Linked DNA regions of Homo sapiens: all the other regions are linked to region 1. Evidence: promoter capture Hi-C in human tissues and cell types (Jung and others, 2019). All regions are on one chromosome and are shown on one strand. Each heading gives the region's core, a stretch centred on a gene start or on the middle of the fragment in contact. The rest is flanking DNA. Distances are from core to core; before and after follow the strand shown. Region 1 holds the start of NEUROD2 (neuronal differentiation 2). Region 2 overlaps IKZF3 (IKAROS family zinc finger 3). Region 3 overlaps IKZF3 (IKAROS family zinc finger 3). Region 4 has its middle 3.7 kb from the start of MED1.

What was found. Contacts are between HindIII fragments. The study calls those that stand out against the background at their distance.
Region 2: a fragment that was not itself captured here is called in contact with the fragment with the promoter of NEUROD2 in region 1 in 3 of the 25 tissues and cell types used here (adrenal gland, mesenchymal stem cells and spleen).
Region 3: a fragment that was not itself captured here is called in contact with the fragment with the promoter of NEUROD2 in region 1 in 2 of the 25 tissues and cell types used here (mesenchymal stem cells and ovary).
Region 4: a contact is called between a fragment that was not itself captured here and the fragment with the promoter of NEUROD2 in region 1, in 1 of the 25 tissues and cell types used here (dorsolateral prefrontal cortex).

The regions. Positions count from the first base shown.
Region 1 is chr17:39,603,832-39,610,511 of GRCh38, reverse strand. It overlaps NEUROD2 (neuronal differentiation 2), which reads left to right and starts at 2,592. Exons shown (of 2, transcript NM_006160.4): 1 at 2,592-2,784; 2 at 3,908-6,680. The coding sequence starts at 3,913. The coding sequence ends at 5,061. The HindIII fragment of the contact is 16,482 bases long and covers 1-6,680 here.
Region 2 is chr17:39,842,856-39,849,535 of GRCh38, reverse strand. The region is part of intron 1 of IKZF3 (IKAROS family zinc finger 3); the gene reads left to right. Among named protein-coding and RNA genes, the nearest start is that of IKZF3, 18 kb to the left of the region's middle. The HindIII fragment of the contact is 5,152 bases long and covers 1-4,952 here.
Region 3 is chr17:39,802,427-39,809,106 of GRCh38, reverse strand. The region is part of intron 3 of IKZF3 (IKAROS family zinc finger 3); the gene reads left to right. Among named protein-coding and RNA genes, the nearest start is that of IKZF3, 59 kb to the left of the region's middle. The HindIII fragment of the contact is 6,845 bases long and covers 906-6,680 here.
Region 4 is chr17:39,451,668-39,458,347 of GRCh38, reverse strand. No RefSeq gene overlaps it. Among named protein-coding and RNA genes, the nearest start is that of MED1, 3.7 kb to the right of the region's middle. The HindIII fragment of the contact is 5,170 bases long and covers 152-5,321 here.

The DNA of each region.
Region 1 (6,680 bases), core at 1,343-3,842:
AGGTGTGAGCTACCATGCTGGGCCTCTCATTTTTTTTTTTTTTTGAGACGGAGTCTCACTCTGTCGCCCAGGCTGGAGTGCAGTGGTGCGATCTCGGCTCACTGCAAGCTCCGCCTCCCGTGTTCACGCCATTCTCCTGCCTCAGCCTCCCGAGTAGCTGGGACTACAGGCGCCCGCCACCATGCCCTGCTAATTTTTTGTATTTTTAGTAGAGATGGGTTTTCACCGTGTTAGCCAAGATGATCTCAATCTCCTGACCTCGTGATCCACCCGCCTCGGCCTCCCAAAGTGCTGGGATTACAGGCGTGAGCCACCATGCCTGGCTGGGACCAACATTTTTTTAAGTTGGTAATGGGGTTGGCCAGGAATCAGAAGCCCAGAGCATGGGCATGTAATTGAAATATCACAGAGCCAGGAGACTCCAGGAAAAAGGCTACTAGTCAGGATTGAGGACCCTGCTTCAGTAAAAGGATTGCAAAGCCTTGGAGGCTGTGCCCAAACTTGGTGGAGGCTGGCCAGCACTCCTGAGTCTCTGCCCTACCTGAAGCCCATCCTTTGGCCTCTTTCTCTGCCATGCCCAGAATCTCCCCACCACGACTATCTGCCAGAGATGGGATTCGCCTTGCAGACCCAGGATTCGTGAATGAAGGGAAGCATGGTAGGCTTATTTTTAGAGACCACTGAGGCAGATTGTGGGCTTATAAGTGGAGTACTGGTCTGTGGGTCAAGTGCCTGAATTCTAGGCCCAGTTCTGTGTTTCCCCTGTGTGTTCCTAGGCAGGTCAGTTTCCCTCCATGGGCCTCTGTAAGATGAGGAGTTGGAGAGGTACATTCTCAGGCTACTTTCAACTCCCAGCCAAGTGACTCAAGAGTCCCAGGCAGCACCAGCACCCCTATCTCCAAGGCCTCCTGATGTGTGTCTCTATTTAGAACTTAATCCAACCTACCCAACATCAGATCAGTGTCTTACCAGCCCAAGGTCCCTGGGGAGCCTCCTAGAGGGAGAGAGCCCTGCCCACCCAGATTGAGGGTAAAGGCCTCCCCGTGCTCATTTTTGTACCACCACAGTGCTTGGCACATGGTAGACATCAAAATGTGTGTGCTGAAAGTATAATTGAAGTTGTGTATATATGTCAGCTAGAGTGTCTGGAGGGGCAGAAATGTGGGTCTAAAACATACAAATGCTCCAAATGGGGTGTGGGCAAGGGTCTGTCTACACCAGGCTGTGATTACCTGCTCACATACATGTGTCTATCTGAGTAGGGGTATGTTATCTATTTTTCTACACCACAGGGTGAGGAACAGGTATATGTGTGCATGTGTATGCATCCGTGTGTGTGTGTATGTGTGTGTGCATGAGTGTGTGTGTGTGTGTCCAAAGCCACCTCTTCAACCTGTGCCATTTGTATCTGTGTCTGGCCCAATGAGAGTGTTGAAAGGTGAGCCACAAGATAAAACAGCAACTTCCTACCTCCCTTATCAAGACAGCTGTCTGACCTACCTCCCCTTGGCCACTCTTGGGATTACTGGGGTTGGCTTCAGTATTTTCAGATTTTTCAGAAGGGGAGGAGAATGCTTGAGTCTCATCCAGGAACTTAGGCAGTTCTCAGCACTGCCTGCTCCTCCTCCCTCAAATAACCAAGTCTGAAGACCAGGAGAGAAAGCCGCTGGTGGACTGGTCACCTGTCTGGCAGTGGGAGGAGGAGAGTGAGAGGTTTCTAGGTTAGGAATCCAGACTTAGACCCTCCCCTCCACCCCCAGATGGGTGGTGCACAGGCTCATCTCGCGGCCCCTCCCCACTCCACCCTAACATGGATACGCCCCCAACAACCAAGGAAAGATCTCCCATCGGCTGACTCCACAGATACACACATGTCCCCACAGACACACACACGCCCATGCAGAGGCACAGACATCCAGGCACATCTTTCCCTTTCTCTGTCTTTCCCTTGGTTTGAATTTCGTTTAGCCACATATGTTGTGTGTGCGTGAGGGTGGGTGGGGGAGGGGCAGACAGGGATGAGGGATGGCATGGTGCCAACATCTACCTATGGGGCTCGGGCCAGGGACGCCCCTTACAGCCATCCTGGGAGGGGGTCTCAGCTGTCCCTTTGTGGCCAAGGGGACCCTCCTGGGGAGTGGGGGCAAGCACAGAGGTCCTTTCTCCCCAACCCGGGGTCTGGTCCCTGACCCACCTTGGGGGCCTGCAGGGGAGGAAATGGACAGAGCGGGACCCTGAGGGAGCATAGAATTGGCCACCACGAGCCCCCAGTGTCCAGCCTTGCCACCCCATTGTTCCCGTGAGGGGGTCTCTATATACAGGGGGCAACTCCTCCCACCTTCCTCTCAATCCCTGCTTTCCCTGCGTTGGGCGGGGAGGGGAGGGCGGCAGAAATATTTATTTATTTCCTTTATTTATTTAATTTTTTTTTTTTTTTTTGGAGTAGAGAGTGACAGATGGCGGCGGGTCCCGGGGGAGCCGGCTCTCCCCCAGTGCAGACGCATGCCAATCACCGTCTCTCATGTGATAGCTGCTGCCCGTGACGTGCCAAGCCCATATGGCCTGGCATAGAGGCTGGTACCCCGCCTGGTAGAGATGCCACACTCGCTCCGCGGTTCGCATGGCGCTCTGAAGACGCCGGCGCCCGCCGCCTTGAGGAGCCGCTGCCCCCGCTCCCTGAAGATGGGGGAACAATGAAATAAGCGAGAAGATCCCTCTTCTCCCCCCTCTCTCTCTTGCCCCCTCCCCCCCTCCCCTCCCCTCTCCCCTTGACTCCTCTCCGAGGTAAGTTGTCCGAAAGGGAGCGAGATCTGACCCGCCGGTTGGGAGGAGGGGCGGCAGCTTCGGCCGACAGGAGGGTCCTCAAATACCTCCTTCCTGGGATGATGCCCCCCTCATTGGGTGGGCATCGGAGGGGCCCCAGGTTCTCTCTCCCTTAGGGGCTGCAGCCCAGGGGGCTGCAGAGGAGGTGTCTCTGCCTGCGATGGGCTCGGTGGGGGGGGAAGGCAGGATCACGGAGGGGGATATGCGAAGAGGCCGAGACGGAGGACCCCTCCATGGTTGTCCCAAAAAGCCTGCCACCTTTCCCCACCACCGAAAAAAGGGAAGCAAACAAACAAATTTGGATTTTTCCCCCATCAATCCCAAAATACAACGAGATCTGAAGAGCCTTGTGGGAGGGAGTCAGCTTGAAGGGGGAAGGGGGTCCCTGACCGCAGAGGGGACGGACTGGGCTCGCTTCTCTCAGTCTCCTCCCCACGCCCCGCTGCTTCAGTCCTCGCCGCCCAGAGCCGGCTCCGGGAGCTGGGGACGCATCGGCTAGAGGAGACGATCCTCCCGCCTCTGGAATTGGGGGTGCGGGGGTGGGGGCCGAGCAAGGGGCGGCGCGCAGCCAAGTTGCAAATTGGATTAGGGAGCGTGGGGGTGAGAGCCACGGGAGGGGTGAGGGAGCTGGGCCGGGGGGCCCGGGCCGCGAGAGCGCGGAGCGGGGCAGCTGTCCCCACCGGCGGCCGACCAGCCTCTCTCCACCGCCAGGAGAGAACGGGCTTTCAGGGCGAGCGCGCCGCCTCCCCTGGCAAAGATATCTGGTCCCTAAAACCCCCACCCGGTCCCTGCCCTGACCCTGAGAAGAAGCAGGCGCGGGGAGCAGCCCCCCATTCAAGCGAGGGGCGGAGCCGGGGCCCAGCGCCGGGGAGAGGGCCTGGGCCGAGATCCCAGGCCGGCAGCCGGGTAGGGCTGGGCCGGCTCTGGGCGGGGCAGGCGGCGGAGGTGGGCATCCAGGGTAGCCTAGGCAGGAGCCCGCACGAGACTCGGGGGTGGAGGAGGGTTGTGGGGGGGCGTCGGTACCCCAGCGCGCCCCTCACTTTGTGCTGTCTGTCTCCCCTTCCCGCCCGCGGGGCGCCCTCAGGCACCATGCTGACCCGCCTGTTCAGCGAGCCCGGCCTTCTCTCGGACGTGCCCAAGTTCGCCAGCTGGGGCGACGGCGAAGACGACGAGCCGAGGAGCGACAAGGGCGACGCGCCGCCACCGCCACCGCCTGCGCCCGGGCCAGGGGCTCCGGGGCCAGCCCGGGCGGCCAAGCCAGTCCCTCTCCGTGGAGAAGAGGGGACGGAGGCCACGTTGGCCGAGGTCAAGGAGGAAGGCGAGCTGGGGGGAGAGGAGGAGGAGGAAGAGGAGGAGGAAGAAGGACTGGACGAGGCGGAGGGCGAGCGGCCCAAGAAGCGCGGGCCCAAGAAGCGCAAGATGACCAAGGCGCGCTTGGAGCGCTCCAAGCTTCGGCGGCAGAAGGCGAACGCGCGGGAGCGCAACCGCATGCACGACCTGAACGCAGCCCTGGACAACCTGCGCAAGGTGGTGCCCTGCTACTCCAAGACGCAGAAGCTGTCCAAGATCGAGACGCTGCGCCTAGCCAAGAACTATATCTGGGCGCTCTCGGAGATCCTGCGCTCCGGCAAGCGGCCAGACCTAGTGTCCTACGTGCAGACTCTGTGCAAGGGTCTGTCGCAGCCCACCACCAATCTGGTGGCCGGCTGTCTGCAGCTCAACTCTCGCAACTTCCTCACGGAGCAAGGCGCCGACGGTGCCGGCCGCTTCCACGGCTCGGGCGGCCCGTTCGCCATGCACCCCTACCCGTACCCGTGCTCGCGCCTGGCGGGCGCACAGTGCCAGGCGGCCGGCGGCCTGGGCGGCGGCGCGGCGCACGCCCTGCGGACCCACGGCTACTGCGCCGCCTACGAGACGCTGTATGCGGCGGCAGGCGGTGGCGGCGCGAGCCCGGACTACAACAGCTCCGAGTACGAGGGCCCGCTCAGCCCCCCGCTCTGTCTCAATGGCAACTTCTCACTCAAGCAGGACTCCTCGCCCGACCACGAGAAAAGCTACCACTACTCTATGCACTACTCGGCGCTGCCCGGTTCGCGGCCCACGGGCCACGGGCTAGTCTTCGGCTCGTCGGCTGTGCGCGGGGGCGTCCACTCGGAGAATCTCTTGTCTTACGATATGCACCTTCACCACGACCGGGGCCCCATGTACGAGGAGCTCAATGCGTTTTTTCATAACTGAGACTTCGCGCCGGCTCCCTTCTTTTTCTTTTGCCTTTGCCCGCCCCCCTGTCCCCAGCCCCCAGAGCGCAGGGACACCCCCATCCTACCCCGGCGCCGGGCGCGGGGAGCGGGCCACCGGTCCTGCCGCTCTCCTGGGGCAGCGCAGTCCTGTTACCTGTGGGTGGCCTGTCCCAGGGGCCTCGCTTCCCCCAGGGGACTCGCCTTCTCTCTCCCCAAGGGGTTCCCTCCTCCTCTCTCCCAAGGAGTGCTTCTCCAGGGACCTCTCTCCGGGGGCTCCCTGGAGGCACCCCTCCCCCATTCCCAATATCTTCGCTGAGGTTTCCTCCTCCCCCTCCTCCCTGCAGGCCCAAGGCGTTGGTAAGGGGGCAGCTGAGCAATGGAACGCGTTTCCCCCTCTCATTATTATTTTAAAAACAGACACCCAGCTGCCGAGGCAAAAAGGAGCCAGGCGCTCCCTCTTTCTTGAAGAGGGTAGAAGTTAGGGCGCCGGAGCCCGGGCCTGGAACGCCCTCACCCCCAACCTCCAGTCTCCGCGTTTTGCGATTTTAATTTTGGCGGGAGGGGAAGTGGATTGAGAGGAAAGAGAGAGGCCAAGACAATTTGTAACTAGAATCCGTTTTTCCCTTTTCCTTTTTTTAAACAAACAAACATACAAAAAAAAAAAAAAAAAAAAAAAAAAAAAAAAAAAAAAAAGCTAAGAGGCGACGGAAGCCGAACGCAGAGTCCGGATCGGAGAGAAAACGCAGTAAGGACTTTTAGAAGCAATAAAAGGCAAAAAAAACAAAAAACAAAAAAACAAACAAAAAAAAACCACTACTACCAATAATCAAAGACACAAATATCTATGCAAGGAGGCTCCACTGAGCCTCGCGGCCCGGCCCGGCCCCGGGATGCCCCGCCCGGCCTGCGGGCCGCCCCGCCCGAGCGCGGATCTGTGCACTTTGGTGAAGTGGGGGCCCGCGCCGCCCCCTCCCCCTCCCCAGGTTCTTACAATCAGTGACTCGGAGATTTGGGGCCCCAGTGCCACTGCCCTCCCCCGCCCCGTCCCCGTTGTGCGTCATGCTGTTTTTTAAAAACCTGTTTCCAAATTTGTATGGAATGGCAAACTGTTGGGGGGTCGGTTTGGGGAGGGAGGGTTTGCATGAAAGACACACGCACACCACACCGCACGCACAAGCAGGCCCGGCGCCGGCGTCCGGGGGGCAGAAGGAGGTGAGCTCGCCGGCTCCTCCTCCCCGCGGCCATTCTGTCCCCTCCTGGGGTGAGGGGTGGGGATGGAGACCTGGGGGCAGCCCCACCCCTGCCCGGACTGTGCCTCGGTGGGTGCCACCTGGCGATTTCCGGTGTCTGGAGAGAGTATTTTTTGGTCCAAGGAGTCCTCTTGGCTTTAGCTGGTGGGTGGGCGGGGAGAGGTCTGAGGGCTCCTACTGGAGGTTCCCCCAAAAAGGGGCAAAAGGAGACCCTCTGCCCACCGGAGGCAGGGGATCAGGCATCCAAATACACGATGCAAAAATGCAATCCCACAGGCGACACACCCACACACTCACCCACACACACGCAATTTTACCTTCCTCTTGTAGCGAAGATGAAACTCCCGTCGGACACCCGAAGTGCATT
Region 2 (6,680 bases), core at 1,127-3,626, 240 kb before region 1:
AGGTGACTACCGCCCCACCTGGCTAATTTTTGTGTTTTTAGTAGAGGTGGAGTTTCACCATGTTGGCCAGGCTGGTCTCAAACTCCTGACCTCAGGTGATCCGCCTGCCTTGGCCTCCCAAAGTGCTGGGATTACAGGCATGAGCCACCACGCCTGGCTGGATTTTTTTTTTTTAATTGGGTTGTCTTTTTTCATACTGATTTTGTGGGCTTTTTTTTTTTTTTTCCAGGTGCTATCACACCTGGCTAATTTTTGTATTGTTTTAGTAGAGACAGGGTTTTAGCATGTTGGCCAGGCTGGTCTCAAACTCCTGACCTCAGGTGGTTTGTCTGCCTTGGCCTCCCAAAGTGCTGGGATTACAGGCTTGAGCCACTGCACCCAGCCAGTAATGTGTACTTTGTCAGATGTGTAATACAAATACTTTATCCCAGTCTGTAACTTGTTTATTTTTCTTAATCTATTTGATGAATAGAATTCTTAATTTTAATGAAGATTAATTTATCAGCTTCTTTTTTGTGACTAAGTGCTGCTTATATCTTGCTAAAGAATTCTTTGCCAGGCACGTTGGCTCCCACCTGTAATCCTACCACTTTGGGAGGGTAAAGCGGGAGGATCATTCAAGGCCAAGAGTTTAAAACCAGCCTGGGCAACATAATGAGACCCCATCTCTCCAAACATTTTTTTAAAAATTAGCTGAGTGTAGTGATGCACACCTGTAGTCTCAGCTACTCAGGAAGCTGAGGTGGGCAGATTGCTTAAGCCCAGGAGTTCCGGGCTGCAGTGAGCTACGTCATGTCACTGCATTCCAGCCTGTGCAACAGAGTGAGACCCTGTCTCTAAGAAAAAAAGAAAAATAAATCTTTACCTACTCCAGGGTCATGAGAATATTCTGTTTTCCTCTAGAAGTTTGATTGTTTCAACTTTCATATTTAGCTCTGTTACCCACTTCAAATTAATGATTCTATTTTTGGCTCCAGCTATTTTACAGTTATAAAACTAGGCATTTTACAGTTATAAAACAAGTCTTCATTTCAATATGTTAGATTCAATCATTTTACCAGAAACATCTTTTTAAAGTAGCAATGACATGAAATGCCCATTTTTCCTTTTCTCTCTGCATGTTCATTTGGTAGCATGTGATATACAAGGTAAAATTGGAATGTATGTTTTTGTCTACAACTTAAGGGTAACTGACCTTTGAAGGAAAATAACACTAGACACTGACTTTGTTGTTTTAACAACAGTTGTCAGCAGTTCACCTGTGCCCCACGGTCTACAGTTTCCTCATTAAACACTTAATCTAGGAGAAAAAATGGAATGCTTTATTTTTTTTTAAAGGGGGAGGGTAGGAAGAACTGGAACAGTAACTTGGTTGTATTTGATCTGGTGTTTTTAAGCAAGCAGTCTTGATGTTTCTTAACATTTACCTTAGCCCAAGGAAATAGGGAAGGAAGTATTTCATGATTGGAGGGATTACTCTCACTTTAATGCATGTCTTTGTTTTTGTTATCTTCCTTTCCCCTCAATCAGCAATAATGCACAGTCAGTTAGGGTGTTTGAAATTAATTGGATCTAAAATTTCTTCTAGTTCTGGCCTTCTAAAATCTGTAATCTGTATAGGAAGGCATTTAAAACACGATTTAAATTCTCTGAAGCAACAGTAAAACTCAAGAGACAAATCCTGCTTCTCTTCTTAATGTGTCACTGACTTTGTGCCCTTGGGCGATTACTGGCCTTTATGTTTTTTGTCATTATTTGTATCTTGGATTTTGTCTGTAAAATGGGGAAAATAATAAATGCCATTGCCCCTATTTATCTTCCAGAATTGTTATGAGAAAAAAAGAAATCTCATTGCACTATTAGGCTGAGTGCTTGATGCCACGTTTTTGGAGAGCCACAGGCAAACAAAAACGGGTTCAGAAGACAGCTCTCACCATGGTCAGGAAACTGGGTGGTAACATCTGAGCTATAACTTATCCTGTATGTTCCCAGAAAGCTGAACTAGGACCTGAAATAGACATTTCAGTAAATTTGAGTTCAGCTACATTTAAGAAAGAATGCTTTTAACTACTAGAGTTTTTCTGAAATGGAAAGGAATAACTTCTGTATTATTCGAAGTGTTCAAGCAGAGGCTGTATAACCCAAGTAGGGGGATATTAGAGGACATTCAAACATCAGATGGCAGAGGAAGGAGAGGTAAGCTAGTTATGATAATAATTTCGATTCTAATATGCTAATTTCATCGGTTATAGGGATCATTTTTCATCCTACAGAACTGTTCTTGTACTGATGGAATTTGAGGAATGATTATATATGATGGTGATACGGAGAACTGGTAAAGGATTTTGCAGAAATGACAGCGAACGCTTCTCTGCCACATTTACAGTCCCAGGTGTTAATGTTGCAATTCTGAAAACATTCTTATAATCAGTGCCTCAATTTCTAAAACTTTTAATTATAAAGTAAAAGTGAACATTTTAGATAAGATAAACTTTTTCTTTTTAAAAAAGAGGTATGGGTATAAAGGACTCCATTTACTATTATAAAGAAGGAATGGAATATCAACATTCAGAGATAGCTTTCTGGCAGCTGCCAGGCACCTCTGGTGCCTGACAGCTGGCAAACTCAATACAGGATTCTTTCTGAGATTTGACATTTTGCTTTCCTTTAGTGCTTATACTTCCTACTGGGAAAACAGACCATGGAGTAGAAATATGATCTCTGAAATTAAGAGGAAAATTTTGTTAGCTAATATTCTTAATTCAATGGTAATTATTTAATAGTACAGTATTAGAAATAAAGGCAAGTTTATAACCATTAGAATTAAAAACATGATTGTACATTTTTGTTGCTAATGTAAATATTTGATTTTCTTCATAGCTAATTTATACTTGAACTAATAGGTAAAGCATTCATATGTGAACTTCCATGAAATCTCAATTAACTAGACTCCTGCCATTTCCAAGTTTAAATTTTATTTATAATCTGCCCCCTTTCGTTTTACAGCACATGAAATGTTAGAAACTCTGAAAAAAAAAAAAAAAAAAACCTTGGTATCTTAAAAAAACTAACCGGTGAGAAAATTTATATAGTGTCATCGTCAATGAAAAGAGAATCTAAAAAGCCAAAAACGAATTTGAAATTATCATCTCTTAGTAAGCATGTGATGAAGTCTTGTTTTCTATACTGGTAGAAAACAATTTGAGATTGCTAGAATGGCTATGAGTAGCTATGAATGGGAGAGTGCTGTGGAACACTGCAAAAGAAATAAGCTTTAACTTTTACAGTCTAATATATATGTCAGTATCTCAGTAGTAGACTAGTTGTGTCCTTTAGAAGATGTGTTATTTAAGAGATAAGGTGTTAATGGAAAACACTTATGTTTTAATTAAACCTTAAAACATATCAGGAGATTGGTTATTTAGTTGTGGAAAGAGCAAAAAGACAAATGAAATAGGTATTAACTAGAGTTTTCTGCTAGATTACAACTCTGGCTTTTAAATGAAATAAGAAAATGGTTTTATCTAATGATACCCAAAAATCCTGATGAAAACATGATGCTAAGTATATATTTGTATACATACATGTATGTTCATTTAAAAATATTTTATCTGGATATTTGGATATCCTGTGGTCGATATTTTTACCCTCTGAAAAGTCGCATTAATTTTTCAATCAGTGACATTTGTAAAGTGCTTTGTATGAAAGGTGCTGTCTAAATGTTTTATTTCTTTGATTACTGCGTCAGTGAAAACCGCAACTTTCTCTTGAAATTCCAATTGCAGGGTTTTGAAAGTAAACATAGAAGTATTAGTAATAGACCTAGAACAGGGCTCCATAAGCTTTTTCTGTAAAGGACCAGATAGTGAATGTTTTAGGCTTTGCAGGTCATATGGTCTCTGTCACAACTACTTAGTTGGCTGATGGAGTACAAAAGCAGCCATAGACAATATACAAATGAATGGGTTTAGCTGTGTTCCAATAAAACCTTTTTTTTTTTTTTTCTTTTTTGGAGACAGAGCCTTGGCCTGTTGCCCAGGCTGGAGTGCAACGGGGCAATCTCAGCTCATTGAAACCTCTGCCTCCCAGGTTCAAGTGATTCTCCTGCCTCCCCCTCCTGAGTAGCTGGATTATAGGCACCTGCTACCAAGCCTGGCTAATTTTTTTTTGTATTTTTTTATAAAGACGGGGTTTTGCCATGTTGACCAGGCTGGTCTCGACCTCCTGACTAAGTGATCCACCTGCCTCAGCCTTCCGAAGTGCTGGGATTACAGGCATGAGCCACCGTGCCTGGCCTCCAATAAAACTTTATTGATGAACACTGCAATTTGAATTTTGTAAAATGTTCAAGTGTATTCTTCTGATTTTTAAAAACCATTTAAAGATGTAAAAACCATTCTTAGTTCACAGGCAGTACAATAACAGGCAGTGAGCCATAGTTTGCAAAACCATCTAGTGCGTTCATAGGGATCAACAATAGAGATATAAAACTTCACTTGTTCATTCAACAAGTATTTATTCAGTGTCCATCATGAGCAGACACTAGTGTAGGGGCTGAAGATACAGCAATACAAAACAGACAACATCACTGTTCTCATGGAGCTTACATTCTTGTGGGAAAAGACAGATTTAAAAAAATGAGTGATGGTGATCTGGGAGCCTGAGGCAGGCGGATTACCTGAGGTCAGGAGTTCGAGACCAGCCTGACCAACATGGAGAAACCCCATCTCTACTAAAAATACAAAATTAGTTGAGCATGGTGTCGCATGCCTGTAATCCCAGCTACTTGGGAGGCTAAGGCAGGAGAATCGCTTGAACTGGGCAGGCGGAGGTTGCCGTGAACCGAGATCGCACCATTGCACTCCAGCCTGGGCAACAAGAGCAAAAAAATAAAAAATAAAAAAACAAGACTCTGTCCCCCCCAAAAAAATGAATGATGGTGATAATGAAAAAATTTTATAAAGAAAAATAAAGCAGGTAAGAGGAAAGAAAATGACAATGGAAGATGACATTTTATGTAGGGTAATTAGGTAAACCTTGTTTGAATAGGTGACTTTTAAGCAGATACTTGAATGAAAAGAGAAATTGAGCCAAGTGGCTTCTAAGAGGAAAGCATTATAGTCAGGGGGAAGGGTAAATGCAAAGGCCTTGAGGCAGGAGCATGCTTTCCCTGTTCAAATAACAGGAGAAATGTAGACAATTGATGAGATTTATATTTCAACAAAATTAACCCACTCCAAGATTCTTCCATCATTTGCCCCAGATATGTATAAACATCAGTACAGGAAACTATATTTCTATCAAAAGCAATATAGGGACTCTTCCTACTTAACTTTGTAGAGCATTCTTTTGGAAAATATTTCAAAGCTATGTTGACTGCCTACACATTAAAAAGACCACAGTAGACCCCATCAAATGGAAACTTTTTGTGGATTTGTTAGGGGGGACTGAAGTGTAAAGAAGTTACAAAATGATTAATTAAAAACTAAGATGTTTTTGCTGCATTTAGAAATATTTAACAAGTTTCTGGTCTTCATTTGGGAGTTCCTTCACCATCTGTCCACTCCTGTCTTTGAATGGGCTTCATGTTCTTATAAATACCTTGAAGTTTAGGGGGGAAATACACTTCAATCTATCTTGTTGTTGTGTTTTAATTTAGTAGCTAATAAGAACATTCATGTGACCTGATCACAGATGGTTTTCCTATCTCTTTTTTTTTTTTTTTTTAAAAGACGGAGTCTCACTCTGTCGCCCAGGCTGGAGTGCAGTGGTGCCATCTCGGCTCACTGTAACCTCTGCCCCCCGTGTTCAAGCGATTTTCCTGTTATGAATGCTAAGGTAGTCAGAATCTCATTTTTCTCTTCGAAACTACACTCAGTTACTTCTGGTGCTATTTACAGTACACAAAGGACACTTTAAAAATATTGAGAGCTATTTAAATGTCAGAGGGTTTAAAATATTCAGGGGACCAAGACCTTTTGCCTTTAGTTCACCAAATCAAAAGCCATCTTTCTGTGTAGTGACTAAAAGATGTTCCCACATGAAGGTTGCTCATGTGAAAGCTTTGAGCTAGTTTTCGTTCTTTCTTTTTTTTTTTCCCTCCGTTAAGAATCTTTTCAGCATGCAGTTGAAAGTTTCATAGTTAGCGTTTTTAAAAAACACTATCGAACTTACAGAAAAGTTGCAATACAGCACAAAAAAACTTTTTTTCTGCAAGTTTTTAAAGTAAGTTGCTGACACGGTGCTCTATCCCTGTCCTATGCTTTAGAGTATGTGCCCTGCCTTCACAATAAAATCATCAAAACCAGGAAATCAACATTACTACCATTCAATCCTCAGACCCCATTCAAGTTTCTCCAGTTGCTTCTGTGATGTTCTTTACCACAAGATATTTCGGTTCAGGATCACACATTGCTTTTCGTTGTCATGTCTCTTTCCTCTCCTTCAGTCTGGAACAGTTCTTCAGTCTTTCATGACCTTGAAACTTTTGAGGATTATAAGCCAGCTGCTTTGTAAACTATCCCTGCAAATTCGAGTTTGGTTGTTTCTTTATGGTTTGATTTGTGTTTTGCATATTTGGCAGGAATATCACAGAAGTGATGCTGTGTTCTACTCACTATCAGAAGGCACATAATTTTTGTTTGTCCCATTACTGATGATGACCACATGTAACTTTGCTC
Region 3 (6,680 bases), core at 3,079-5,578, 200 kb before region 1:
TCATCAGTCTGGTGGCATTAAAGACATTGACAAGATGTGTTAGAACCAGCCTTTTCTGCACCTGCGTCTACAGAAGCAAAAATCTCAGCCAGGGCCTTTGTTATCCTTTCTTACTCCTTAAGTAATTTCATAGCAGCCCTTGAGAAAATAGGAAAGGCTCTTTGTTAACTTCTGTTAAGTCAGCCTAGGCTGTGGTCATACCTCCCATCCACCGACATTTGAACAAACACTACTTAATGGTCCATTATTACTCTTTTCATTACTTGGAGCCCAGAACTCTCTCTTGCATTTTTATATGACCTATTCCTTACTTACCATCAGCTTGATTTTCCGGTTCTAGTCCTTCAGGTTGTACTAGTTCTCTCTCTCTCTCAGACTGTAAAGAAAAGATAATTCTTTATTTTCTTATTTTGTCTTACGAGAGAACTCACATTCCTGAATGAACCCTCAGTGAACTTCCCCAGGTGCATTTATATCACTGCTGCTTTGCAGTCCAGAGATAGTGCTCATTAACTAATTAATAACCACAGCCTAGTAAAACACACTAAATTATTAACAGAACAGAAAGTGAGACAGTATGGTCCATAAAAGCACAAAATATAACAAAGAAGTAATATATCCTTATGTATCTGGATCCTTATGAATTTTAGCCCAATTTAGAAAGAGCAAAAATCAGTAGTTAGGTATTTGTCTGAAATCGATAATAAAATAACTAAGTATGGGAAATGTCCAATCAGGCCAACTCTTTTATACTTGATTTTTTAACCTTCCTTTCCTACTGTCAAGTAGCGGGTGCCCTTGTGTTTTTCAACAAGCTAATTCTTGTTAATTTTGTTGAAAGGGAATGAAATCAGTTGTACAGGAACAAAAGGAGTTAAAAATAGTCTTCTGAGCATTTGTCATATGGAAGTAATCATAGCTCAGAAACTATACTTACCATGATGCTTCTTGTAATCATTGGTGAATGGGTAGCTAAACATTCCCATTTTGAGACAGAGTCAGTATCAGAGTCAGTATCAGAGCTATCAATTTTATTTTGTTTTGTTTATCTGTATAGATTTCTTTTTAAAACAGCTTTAATGTGGTTATAATTTACATACTTTAAATGTTCAATTCAATGACTTTTCTAGTAAATTTACAGAGCTGTACAACTACCACCATGTTTTAGAACATTTCCATCACCCTAAAAAACCCTTTGTACTTGTTTGTAGTTGATCCCCATTCTTGCCTGCAGCCTCAGGCAACCACTAATTATTTCTGTCTCTAAAGATTTACTGTTTCTGGGTATTTCATATAAATGGAATAATACCATATGTAATATTTTGTTTCTGGCTTCTTTTACTTAGCATAATGTTTTTGAAGTTCATCTATGTTGCTGCATGTATCAGTAGTTTGTTTCTTTTATTTCTTTTTTCTTAAAATTTTTGAGATGGGATCTCACTGTGTTGCCTAGGCTGGTCTCAAACTCCTGGGCTCAAGTGATCCTCCCACCTCAGCCGCCCGAGTAGCTGGAAACATATAGAGGCCCCGTCTCTACAAAAAAAAAAAAAAAAAAAAAAAAATTTAAATAGTCCCAGCTACTCAGGAGACTGAGGTGGGAGGATTGCTTGAGCCTAGGAGGTCGAGGCTGCCTAGTGAGCCATGATCATGCCGCTGCACTCCAGCCTGGGTGACAGTGAGACTCTGTCAAAAAAAAAAAAAAAAAGAATATCATTGTATTTATATAGTACATTTTGATTATCAATTCACTGTTTGGTGGACATTCAATTGTTTGCATTTTTTAGCTTCTATGAACATTTATGTACAAGTCTTTATGTGGACATAGGTTATCACTGCTTTTGAGCAGATACCTAGAATTGTTGGCTTGTATGGTAAATTTATGTTTAATTTTATAAGAAACTACCCCTATATTAGTTATTGATTGCTGTGTGACAAATGACCCCAAACCCTAGCAACTTAAAACATATTATCTCAGGAATACAGGCACAGCATATCTGGGTCCTCTGCTTCAGTCTCTCCCAAGGCTGCTAACAAGATACTGACCTGAACTGTGGTCTCATCTAAAGACTTGACTAGGGAAGGATCAGTTTCCAAGCTCACTCATGTGGTTGTTGTCAGGATTCAGTTCCTGAAGGCTGTTAGACTGAAGGCCTCGTTTCTTCACTGGAGGTTGGCCAGACACTGCCTTCAGCTCCTTGCTCTCCAGCTTACTTCATCTGAGAAGCTTGCAAGAAACACCACAGAGAGAAAGAGAGAGAGAGATGGAAGTCACAGTCTTTTATAACCTAAACACAGAAGAGACACCTTCCATCACTTTTCCATGTTTTTTTCATTAGAAGCAATCACCTAGGTCCAGCCCACACTGGAGGGGAATATTACACAAGGGTGTGAATGCTAGGAGCCGTTTTAGAAGGCTGCCCACCATACTGCCAAACTGTTTTCCAAAATGACTGTATCATTTTACACTCCCACCAGCAACGGATGAGGGTTCCATTTTCTTCACATCCTTGCCAGCGCTCTTTATTGTGTCTTTTTTATAGTAGCCATTCTAGCAGGTGTGAAGTGGAATCTCATTATGGTTTTAATTCACACTTCTCTAATGACTGAGGATGATGAGCATCTTTTCATTGGTCTGTTGTCCATTCATATAATTTCCTGGTGAAATGTTAATTCACATCTTTTGTGCGTTTTAAAAATTTTATTTATTACCTTAGAAAAGCTAAAGACTACTTTCGTGCATTTTAAAATTGGATTATTTGTCTTACTGAGTTGCAGGATATTTTCATTTATGAATCATGTTTTCAGTGCTGTATCTAAGAAATCTTTGCCTGTCTCAAGGTCATGAACATATTATGTGCCAGCTACTATGCTACGCCTATATATACATTATTTTGCTTAATTTCATTACTGTAACAGCCCTATTAGGTATAGATATTATCATTACTGCAACACAAATGAGAAAATTCACGGAAGTCAAATTACTTGCTGAGGTCACACAGCTAGTTAGTACAACTTGAACCTGGGTTCTGTCTTACTCCAAAGCCCATGCTCTTTTATCAGAAACTTAAAAAAAAAGAAGTCATTCAACTCTATTTTCAGTGGAAAAAAATAAGTTAAATACCATATTGTTCCTTCCCTGTAATTACCAATACCCATCCAATATTACTTGAATATTGTTAGTAGAAACCTCTCTGTGATCATTAGAAGCTGCTGTTTGAAATAGAAAGGACATAGATTGCAGTTTGTTGGCCAGATTCTATTCTAGTTTTATTCTGCCAGACAATATTCCCTCTGCAGTTTCCAGTAGAGCTAGGATGCATCTTTGCTTGCAGCCTTGAAGTATGTTACTGGGCAGCTGTTAAGCAGTTGTTACACTTTATCCCCAGGGATGAACATGTTCCAGTGACAAGATAGCTCATTCCCTTGTGTGCTTTTAATGTTGTACATTCACCCAGGAGAAGTCAGTGCTGAGTTTCTTCTATTATTTCTCAGTGCTCTAATTCCATTATTTGAGAACCAGGGAAGAAGGAAGGGAAGAACCAGAGATGGGTAAAAGTCTAAATAATATGTTACAGATGGTAAATGTTAATTTTTATTTTGTATTTTAATGTAATGCTAAAAAGAACAAGAGTCTTCTAATTCTTAATCCTTATACTCATTTCCTTCTCATCCAAGAATCCTTTATACGCTTTGGGTCTGATTGTTATACCTTGAGTTAGAAATAACAATTTATTTTTTCCCTCTGTCTTCGGCTAATATGCTAGCTTTAGGCAAAATTGCAATCTGTACAATTTTTAAAAACACTGTCAACCCTAATTTTGTACTTGAAGCAAATAATAGTATAGTTGTTCACGCTTTCCTTTCCTCCTTCTTATCTTCTTTCCTTCCTTACTTCCTTGTTTGTTTGGTAAGTAGTCACTGAGCTCTGTATCAGTGCTAAATGTTGATAGAAGCAGCATAATATACAGACGTTGACATCAAACAGCCACTATGTAGAGAGGACAACGGGGAATATTATAGGAAAAGCGGAGAAGAAATGGGAGAGATAAGGAGCTTGTTTGCAACTTGTTGAGTGTGAGATAAGTGTTGGAAATTCAGGAAGTGATTGTACATGTCAGGAAGTATATGTCTATGGCTTTCCAGGTCTACCGGAAATAAAAATTTGAGAGTCAACAGCAATAAAAACTTGGATCAGGAGACAGAGTATGTAAAGTGAAAAGGCAAAAGTTTCAAGAAATAGGCCCTAGGAAATAATTCACATCTAGGAGATAGAGAAAGAGGAATAAACAGAGGATATAAGTAAATAAGTGAGGTAGGAGTAGGACCAGCAAAGAATAAGCCAAGGAAAGAGATTTAAAAAGCAGGGACTGGCCAGTGGCATCCTATTGCAAAATGGTGGAGCAGGAAGGGCAGAAGCCAGACCACAATGGGCAAAGAAGTCAACTAGATGACTGGCTATCACTGTGGGCCATGGACCTTATTCTGATGCATTAAGAGAAACTACATACTGCATGACAGCATCAGAATCTTGTAGACAAGTTAGGGGTCTATTGTGATCTACTACTTCTTCTCTGCCTGGCCTAGTTATCATCACTAAATTGGTTCAGGCTGCCCAAGAAGTTCATTCATTCATTCATTCAATTTCTTTTTTTTTTTTTTTTGAGACAGAGTCTCGCTCTCACCCAGGCTGGAGTGCAGTGGAGCTATCTTGGCTCACTGCAACCTCTGCCTCCTGGGTTCAAGCGATTCTCTTGCCTCAGCCTCCTGAGTAGCTGGGATTACAGGCGCGTGCCACTATGCCCAGCTAATGTTTTGTATTTTTAGTAGAGACAGGGATTCACCATGTCAGCCAGGCTGGTCTCGAACTGCTGGCCTCAAATAATCTGCCCGCCTTGGCCTCCCAAAGTGCTGGAGTGTTGGGATTACAGGCATGAGCCACCACACCCGGCCCATTCATTCAATTTCTAAAGTAACGAGGCCCTTGTTAGGTTCTGGGGACACAAATATTATTTAAACCTGGTCCCCACCTTGAAAATACTCCTAGTCTATATGGGAGATAAATACACTAATTGTGATATAACACAAAACATGCTATATACACCAAGAACTACTTATGCTCTGGATATAGAAGACTTTTTCATTCCTTCCTTTACCTGTGACCCTGAGTTTGGTATTGTGACAGTCAGAATGTTTTTTAGCCAATTGTATTTGGATGACAGTTTTTGAATTTTACTAAGAATTGTATTTTAACATGCTTTAAACTTTTTCATTCCTGTTTTTAAAAAAGATAGAGTGGCTGGGCGCGGTGGCTCACGCCTGTAATCCTAGCACTTTGGGAGGCCGAGGTGGGCGGATCATCTGAGGTCCAGAGTTCGAGACCAGCCTGACCAACATGGAGAAACCCTGCCTCTACTAAAAATGCAAAATTAGCAGGGCATGGTGGTACATGCCTGTAATCCCAGCTACTCCGGAGGCTGAGGCAGGAGAATGGCTTGAACCCGGGAGGTGGAGGTTGCTGTGAGCCGAGATCGCGCCATTGCACTCCAGCCTGGGCAACAAGAGCGAAACTCTGTCTCAAAAAAAAAAAAAAAAGATAGAGTGAATATTCTATGCAAGGGAATTTTGAATGAAAAAGGAAGTTTTTTTTCTTTCGGATTTACAAATGAAGTTTCTACCAGGTAACTACTTTAGTCTATGCTTGTTTAGGCAACATCTAAAACTTCAGCCTCTTTAAATGTATTTCATCCATTGTTTTTTGATGGGTAGCAGTTATTTCTCAAAAATATAAATACAAAAGAGTTTAATACATAGATGAAAATAATCAATAGAAAAAGTAATTGTTATAATGGGCAGAAATGAAACAATATACTTGTAGACTCTTTATAGTTTAGAAAGACCTTTCATACATCATGGCCTTCAGTCCTCACAATTCTAGATAAAGAATTATACCTGGCCCCATGACATTTGAAGAGCTTAGCCCAGCTGAGCAGCTGGAACCTTACCTACTGCTGATGTATAGTGTATTTCTGTTGTAAAAGTAGTAAATCTCCTCTTCTTCTAATGGGGAAGCAAAGAATTGCACTGAAATTATTAAGCAAAATTATTTTTATTATTATGCCCATGAATGAGCTATTTGATAGTCAGATAAGGCAAAAATTAATGTTATTAGTAAAATTGAGGGTAGTTCCTTTGCAAATGAAACTTTTTACATGCTAATGCTCTTGTGTTTGAAGTGATGTGATTTACTGATGGCCAGTTTAGATTCTTTTTTTTTTTTTTTTTTGAGACAGGTCTCATTCTGTTGCCCAGGCTGGCTGGAGTACAGTGGCATGATCACAGCTCACTGCAGCCTGGACCTCTCCAGGCTCAGGTGATCCTCCCTTCTCAGCCTCTTGAGTAGTTGGGACTACAGGCATGCTGTATTCCCAGCTATTCCCAGGTATTCTACCATACCTGGCTATTTTCTCATGACTTTAATTTTTTTTCTTTTTTTTTTTTTTGAGACAGGGTCTCGCTCTGTCTCCCAGGCTAGAGTGCAATGGCATGAACACAGCTCACTGCAGCCTTGACCTCCTGAGTTCAAGGGAATCTCCTGCCTTAGCCTCCTATGTAGCTGGGACAACAGGCACACACTACCACATCCGGCTAATTTTTTGATTTTTTGTAGAGACAGGGTCTTA
Region 4 (6,680 bases), core at 1,487-3,986, 150 kb after region 1:
GCAGTGAGCCAAGATCGTGCCACTGCGCTCCAGCCTGGGTGACAGAGCAAGACTCTGTTTCAAAAACAAACAAACAAACAACAAAAAAATATATATATATTTATATATACACACACACAAAAATTAGCCAGGCATGGTGGCATATGCCTGTAATTCCAGCTACTCAGGAGGCTGAGGCATGAGAATCACTAGAACCTGGGAGGCAGAGGTTGCAGTGAGCTAAGATTGCACCACTGCATTCCAACCTGGGCAACAGAGTGAGAATCCATCTAAAAAAAAAAAAAAGTGGCTAACAAAAAGAAAAAAGGGCTGAGTGTGGTGGCTGACATCTGTAAAACCAACAATTTGGAAGGCCAACATGGAAGGAATTCGTGAGCCCAGAAATTGGAGACCAGCCTGGGCAACATGTTGAGACATCTGTCTCTACAAAAAAATACAAGAAATGACAGGCCGAGCAAGGTGGCTCATGCCTGTAATCCCAGCAATTTGGGAGGCCGAGGCAGGCAAATTGCCTGAGTTCAGGAGTTTGAGACCAGCCTGGGCAACACGGTAAAACCCCATCTCTACTAAAATACAAAAGAAATTAGCCGCCGGGCTTGGTGGCTCACGCCTGTAATCCCAGCACTTTGGGAGGCTGAGGCGGGCGGATCACCTGAGGTCGGGAGTTCGAGACCAGCCCGACCAACATGGAGAAACCCCGTCTCTATTAAAAATACTAAAAAATTAGCTGGGCATGGTGGCCCATGCTTGTAATCCCAGCTACTCGGGAGGCTGAGGCAGGAGAATCGCTTGAACGCAGGAGGCGGAGGTTGCAGTGAGCCGAGATTGGGCCATCGCACTCCAGCCTGTGCAACAAAAGAGAAACTCTGTCTCAAAAAAAAAAAAAAAAATTAGCCAGGCGTAGTGGTGTGGGCCTGTATTCTCAGCTATTCGGGAGGCTGAGGCAGGAGAATTGCTTGAACCCAGGAGGCAGAGCTTGCAGTGAGCCAAGATCACGCCACTGCACTCCAGCCTGGGCGACAGAGCGAGACTCCGTCCCTACCAAAAACAAACAAACAAAAACAAGAAATTAACCAGGCATGGTGTTGCTTGCCTATAGTCCCAGCTACTATGAGGCTGAGATGGGAGGATCACTTGAGCCCAGGAGGTCAAGGCTGCAATGAGCCATGATCATGCCACTGCACTCCAGCCTGGGTAACAGAACAAGAACCTGCCTCAAAAAAGAAAAGAAAAAAGAAAAACACGGGCCAGGCATGGAGGCTCACGCCTGTAATCCCAGTACTTTGGGAGGCCGAGGCAAGCAGATCACCTGAGGTCAGGAGTTCAAGACCAGCCTGACCAACAAGAAGAAACCCCGTCTCTACTAAAAATACAAAAATTAGCCCAGCGTGGTGGCACATGCCTGTAATCTCAGCTACTAGGGAGGCTGAGGCAGGAGAATTGCTTGAACCCGGGAGGTGGAGGTTGCGGTGAGATGAGATGGTGCCATTGCACTCAGCCTGGGCAACAAGAGTGAAACTGTCTCCAAAAAAAAAAAAAAAAAAGAAAAGAAAAGAAAAACACAAGTACTGGAACTCAGTTGTGAACACTCCTTATTCACCGCTATAGGAGGATAGGACACCCTGGATATATTTTCTTGAGACAAGGTCTTGCTGTGCTGCCCAGGCTGGAGTACAGTGTTGCCAGGACAACCTGGATTTATTTTCTTGAGACAAGGTCTTGCTCTGTTGCCCAGGCTGGAGTACAGTGGTATGACCATGACACACTGCAGTCTTTTTTTTTTTTTTTTTGAGATGAAGTCTCGCTCTTGTCCCCCAGGCTGGAGTGCAATGGCACGATCTCGGCTCAGTGCAAGCTCCACCTCCTGGGTTCAAGTGATTCTCCTGCCTCAGCCTCCTGAGTAGCTGGGATTACAGGCGCCTGCCACCATGCCCGGCTCATTTTTGTATTTTTAGTAGAGATGGGGTTTCGCCATGTGGCTAGGCTGGTCTCGAACTCCTGACCTCAGGTGATCCACCCACCTTGGCCTCCCAAAGGGCTGGGATTACAGGTGTGAACCACTGTGTCCGGCTGACACACTGCCATCTTCACTTCCTGAGCTCAAGCAATCCTCCAGCCTCAGCCTCTCCTGGCTGGGATTACAGGTGTAAGCCACAGAGCCTGGCTAATTTTTTTTTTATTTTTTGTAAAGACGGGGTCTTGCTATGTTGCCCAGGCTGCTCTTGAAGTCCTCGGCTCAAGGGATCCTCCCACCTGGACTCCCAAGATGCTCGGAATACAGGCATGGGCCACTGTGTCTGGCCTTGAATGTTTTACATGATGACAGATGGCATGAGACTTCCTGGGCTGATTAAATGTAGTGACCAGTCAGCCATAGTAAGTGTTGGCATGGGTTTGTTGTCATGAGTTCAATAAAATTCACCCTGATTTTTCTGTCTTTTAAATGAGATCAGGTTTTTATTTTTAATTTCTTTTTTTGAGATGGAGTCTTGCTCCGTTGCCAGGCTGGAGTGCGGTGGCACTATCTTGGCTCACTGCAACCTCTGCCTCTCTGATTCAAGCGATCCTCCTGCCTCAGCCTTCTTAGTAGCTGGGATTACAGGCACACGCCACCATGCCTGGCTAATTTTTGTATGTTTAGTAGAGACGGGGTTTCACCATGTTGATCAGGCTGGTCTTGAACTCCTGACCTCATGATCCACCCGCCTTGGCCTCCCAAAGGGCTGGGATTACAGGTGTGAGCCACCATGCCTGGCCTTTTTTTTGGGATGGAGTCTCCCTCTGTTGCCTAGGCTGGAGTGCAATGGCTTCATCTCGGCTCACTGCAACCTCCGCCTCCCAGGTTCAAGCAATTCTCTGCCTCAGCCTTCTCAGTAGCTGGGATTACAGGCGCCTGCCACCATGTTCAGATGATTTTTTTTTAATTTTTAATAGAGACGTGGTTTCACCATCTTGGCCAGGCTGGTCTTGAACTCCTGACCTTGTGATCACCCCCCGCCTTGGCCTCACAAAGTGCTGGGATTACAGGTGCAAGCCACTGTGCCTGGCTGAGATCAAGTTTTTAATTCACGATGTACCCACAGTAGAATGGAAAAGTGAAGACGACAGAAGGCATCGGTGATGTGTCAAAATCTGGAAGAATTAAATTGATTATCCAGATTAAACACCAGCAGAAACTTTTTTTCTTTTTTTGAGACGGAGTCTCACTCTGTCACCTAGGTTGGAGTGCAGTGGTGCGATCTCGTCTCGCTGCAAGCTTCGCCTCGATCTCGGCTCACTGCAAGCTCCGCCTCCCGGATTCACACCATTCTCCTATCTCAGCCTCCCAAATGGCTGGGATTACGGGTGCCTGCCACCATGCCCGGCTAATTTTTTGTATTTGTAGTAGAGACCGGGTTTCACTGTGTTGGCCAGGATGGTCTTGATCTCCTGACCTCGTGATCTGCTCGCCCCGGCCTCCCAAAGTGTTTGTATTACAGGCGTGAGCCACTGCACCTGGCTGAACCTTTCAAAATTATCTGTTACTGCCTCTTGAAGCCAATTAGAGACCAGTAACTAATGAAAGAATGAAGCTTTATCCCTGAAACTTTGAACTTATAATATCTTGAATTTCTATAGCACTTTAAAATTTTTCACGGAACTCTTTTAATCCCGTCAATAAATTTCAATTGAATAAATAAACTAATGAAATTATGTTATTTTTATTACTATTTTTATTTTTTTTTTTGAGACTAAGTCTCCCTCTGTCGCCCAGGCTGGAGTGCAGTGGCACGATTACAGGCATGAGCCACCACACCGCACCAGGCCTATTATTATTATTATGCTTATTGAGAACAGTTTCAATCTGTGGCCTAGGCTGGAGTGCACTGGCAGGATCTTGGCTCACTGCAACCTCCACCTCCCAGGTTCAAGCAATTCTCCTGCCTCAGCCTCCCAAATAGCTGGGATTACAGGCATGCGCCACCATGCCCGGCTAATTTTTTTGTATTATTTTGTATTTTGTATTATTAGTAGAGACAGACTTTGGCCATGTTGGCTAGGCTGTTCTCGAACTCCTGACCTTAAGTGATCCACCCACCTCAGCCTCCCAAAGGGCTGGGATTATAGGCGTGAGCCACTTATTATCGACATCTAATATAGGTTAAACTGACACTGAGAAGGAGTTAGATTGGACCATGTTGACACTTAAGTGTAGAAAGTGCCTGGAGCCGGGACACCTCACTTCTACATACTAAACCAGTACTTTGTATTGAACTACCCTTCCTTCCTCCCTCCCTCCCTTCCTTCCTTCTTTTCCTTTCTTTCTCTCTCTCTCTTTCTTTTAGATAATCTCCCTAACATGGTATTCCTCTTTTTGGTGAATAAAATTCTGCAGCAGAAAATCTCAGGCTGTATCTAAATTTTAAAATACAATATCTACTGTAAACTGCAGGTATTGATCCAATCTGTGCTTTTGTAAAATAAGGGTTGCTTCATTATACAGAAAAACTTTGAACTCAGAAATTCCAGGACTGCTCCATTTGCTTTATTTGCATAACCTTCAAGGGCAGAGAGTCAGGGCAACTCTGTGAACCCCAAGTGATCAGTCAGGTGATGGCAATACTTAGCCTGCAAATCTACTAAAACAAGTCAGAAAGTTTCCATTTAGGCTGTACACAAGAAGAAATATTTAACTAAAGTTTCAATAGCTCTTTTTCCCCAACAAACCAATTTGTTAGTTTAGATTTTAGGTTTAGAGTCCTCTGGGCCGGGCACAGTGGCTCATGCCTGTAATCGTAACACTTTGGGAGGCCAACGTGGGTGGATTGCCTGAGCTCAAGTTCGAGACCAGCCTGGGCAACATAGTGAAACTCTGTCTCTACTAAAATACAAAAAAATTAGCTGGGTGGTGTGGCATACACCTGTAGTCCCAGCTACTTGGGAGGCTGAGGCAGAAGAATTGCTTGAACCCAGGAGGCGGGGGTTGCAGTGAGCCGAGATTGTGCCACTGCACTCCAGCCTTGGCGACAGAGCGAGACACTGTCTCAAAAAAAAAAAAAAAAAAAAAAAAAAAAAAAGAGTCCTTTGGCGCCTCCTTCAAAGCTTAGTCACTTACAATTTGCCCATTGTACCCATTTTCCTATGTATACTGTTCCTATATGTACCTTGAATACTTTTCTTGTTTAATGACATGGCTTTCTTTTTTTTTTTCAGACTCCGTCTTGCTCTTATTGCCCAGACTGGAGTGCGATGACACGATCTTGGCTCACTGCAACCTCCACTTCCCGGATTGAAGCGATTCTCCTGCCTCAGCCTCCCCAGTAGCTGGGATTACAGGCATGTGTCACCACACCCGGCTAATTTTTTGTATTTTTAGTAGAAATGGGGTTTCACCATTTTGGCCAGGCTGGTCTCGACCTCCTGATCTCAAGTACCTGCCTCAGCCTCCCAAAGGACATTGCTCTCTTATCTTCTAGAGTAGAACTTTTCCAATGGTGTCTCTCATCTGCATTTTCAGATGACAAATGATAACTTCTCATTCCATTCTGTAACCAGAAGTTAGTAAAGTTTATTTATAAGCTTTATAAAGTTAAAAATTTCCTAGCAACACTTAGTACAGACTTTTTTTTTTATTTGTATAGAGTTTCCATGATAAAGTGTAGTTGGGTATCTGGCATTGGTACTTAGGGCATAATAATTAATGAAAAAATTTTGAGCCCCTATGATTATAGTGACCAATCATATTTTCGGAACTCTAAATAAGATTAGCCTATCAAGCGCTAGGGTTGTGTTTTCATGTTTGTTTATTTGTCTGAGACAGAGTCTTGCTCTGCCACCCAGGCTGGAGTGCAGTAGCATGATCTCGGCTCACTGCAACCTCTGCCTCCCAGGTTCAAGCGCTTCTCCTGCTTCAGCCTCCTGAGTAGCTCCGCGACCAGCCGTGTTTTCATGTTTGTATTAGCAGCTCCAAATATACACATATTAGGACTCCACAGATGCTTACTAAGTGAAGAACACTTAGTTTGAGGATAGTAAAGGATACAGTTTTTTCTTTTTGAGACAGTCTCACTCTGTCACCCAGGTTGGAGTGCAGTGACGCGATCTCTGCTCACTGCAACTTTCGCTTCACGGGTTCCAGAGATTCTCCTGCTTCAGCCTCCCGAGTAGCTGGGATTACAGGAGCGCACCACCACACCTGGCTAATTTTTGTATTTTTCGTAGAGACGGAGTTTTACCATGTTAGCCAGGCTGGTCTCAAACTCCTGACCTGATGATCCACCTACCTTGGCCTCCCAAAGTGCTGGGATTACAGGCATGAGCCACTGCGCCTAGCCAGAAATAGTTTTGAAACTAAAAAAATGAGAAAAGGGGAATTAACTGTGCTATAGGCTCGCTTTGAACGTCATGTTACAATGCGCCACTATCTTTCTTAGGATGTAATTATTGCATCTAGTATCTCAGGTTAAACTTATCTTTCATAAGACACTCCTGATACCAATAGCCTTTGAAAATCTAGTCATGGCCGGGTGTGGTGGCTCATGCCTGTAATCCCAGCACTTTGGGAGGCCGAGGCGGGCGGACAGCGAGGTCAGGAGTTCGAGACCAGCCTGGCCAACACGGCGAAACCCCGTCTCTACTAAAAATAGCTGGGCGTGGTGGCGGGTGCCTGTAATCCCAGCTACTCGGGAGGCTGAGGCAGG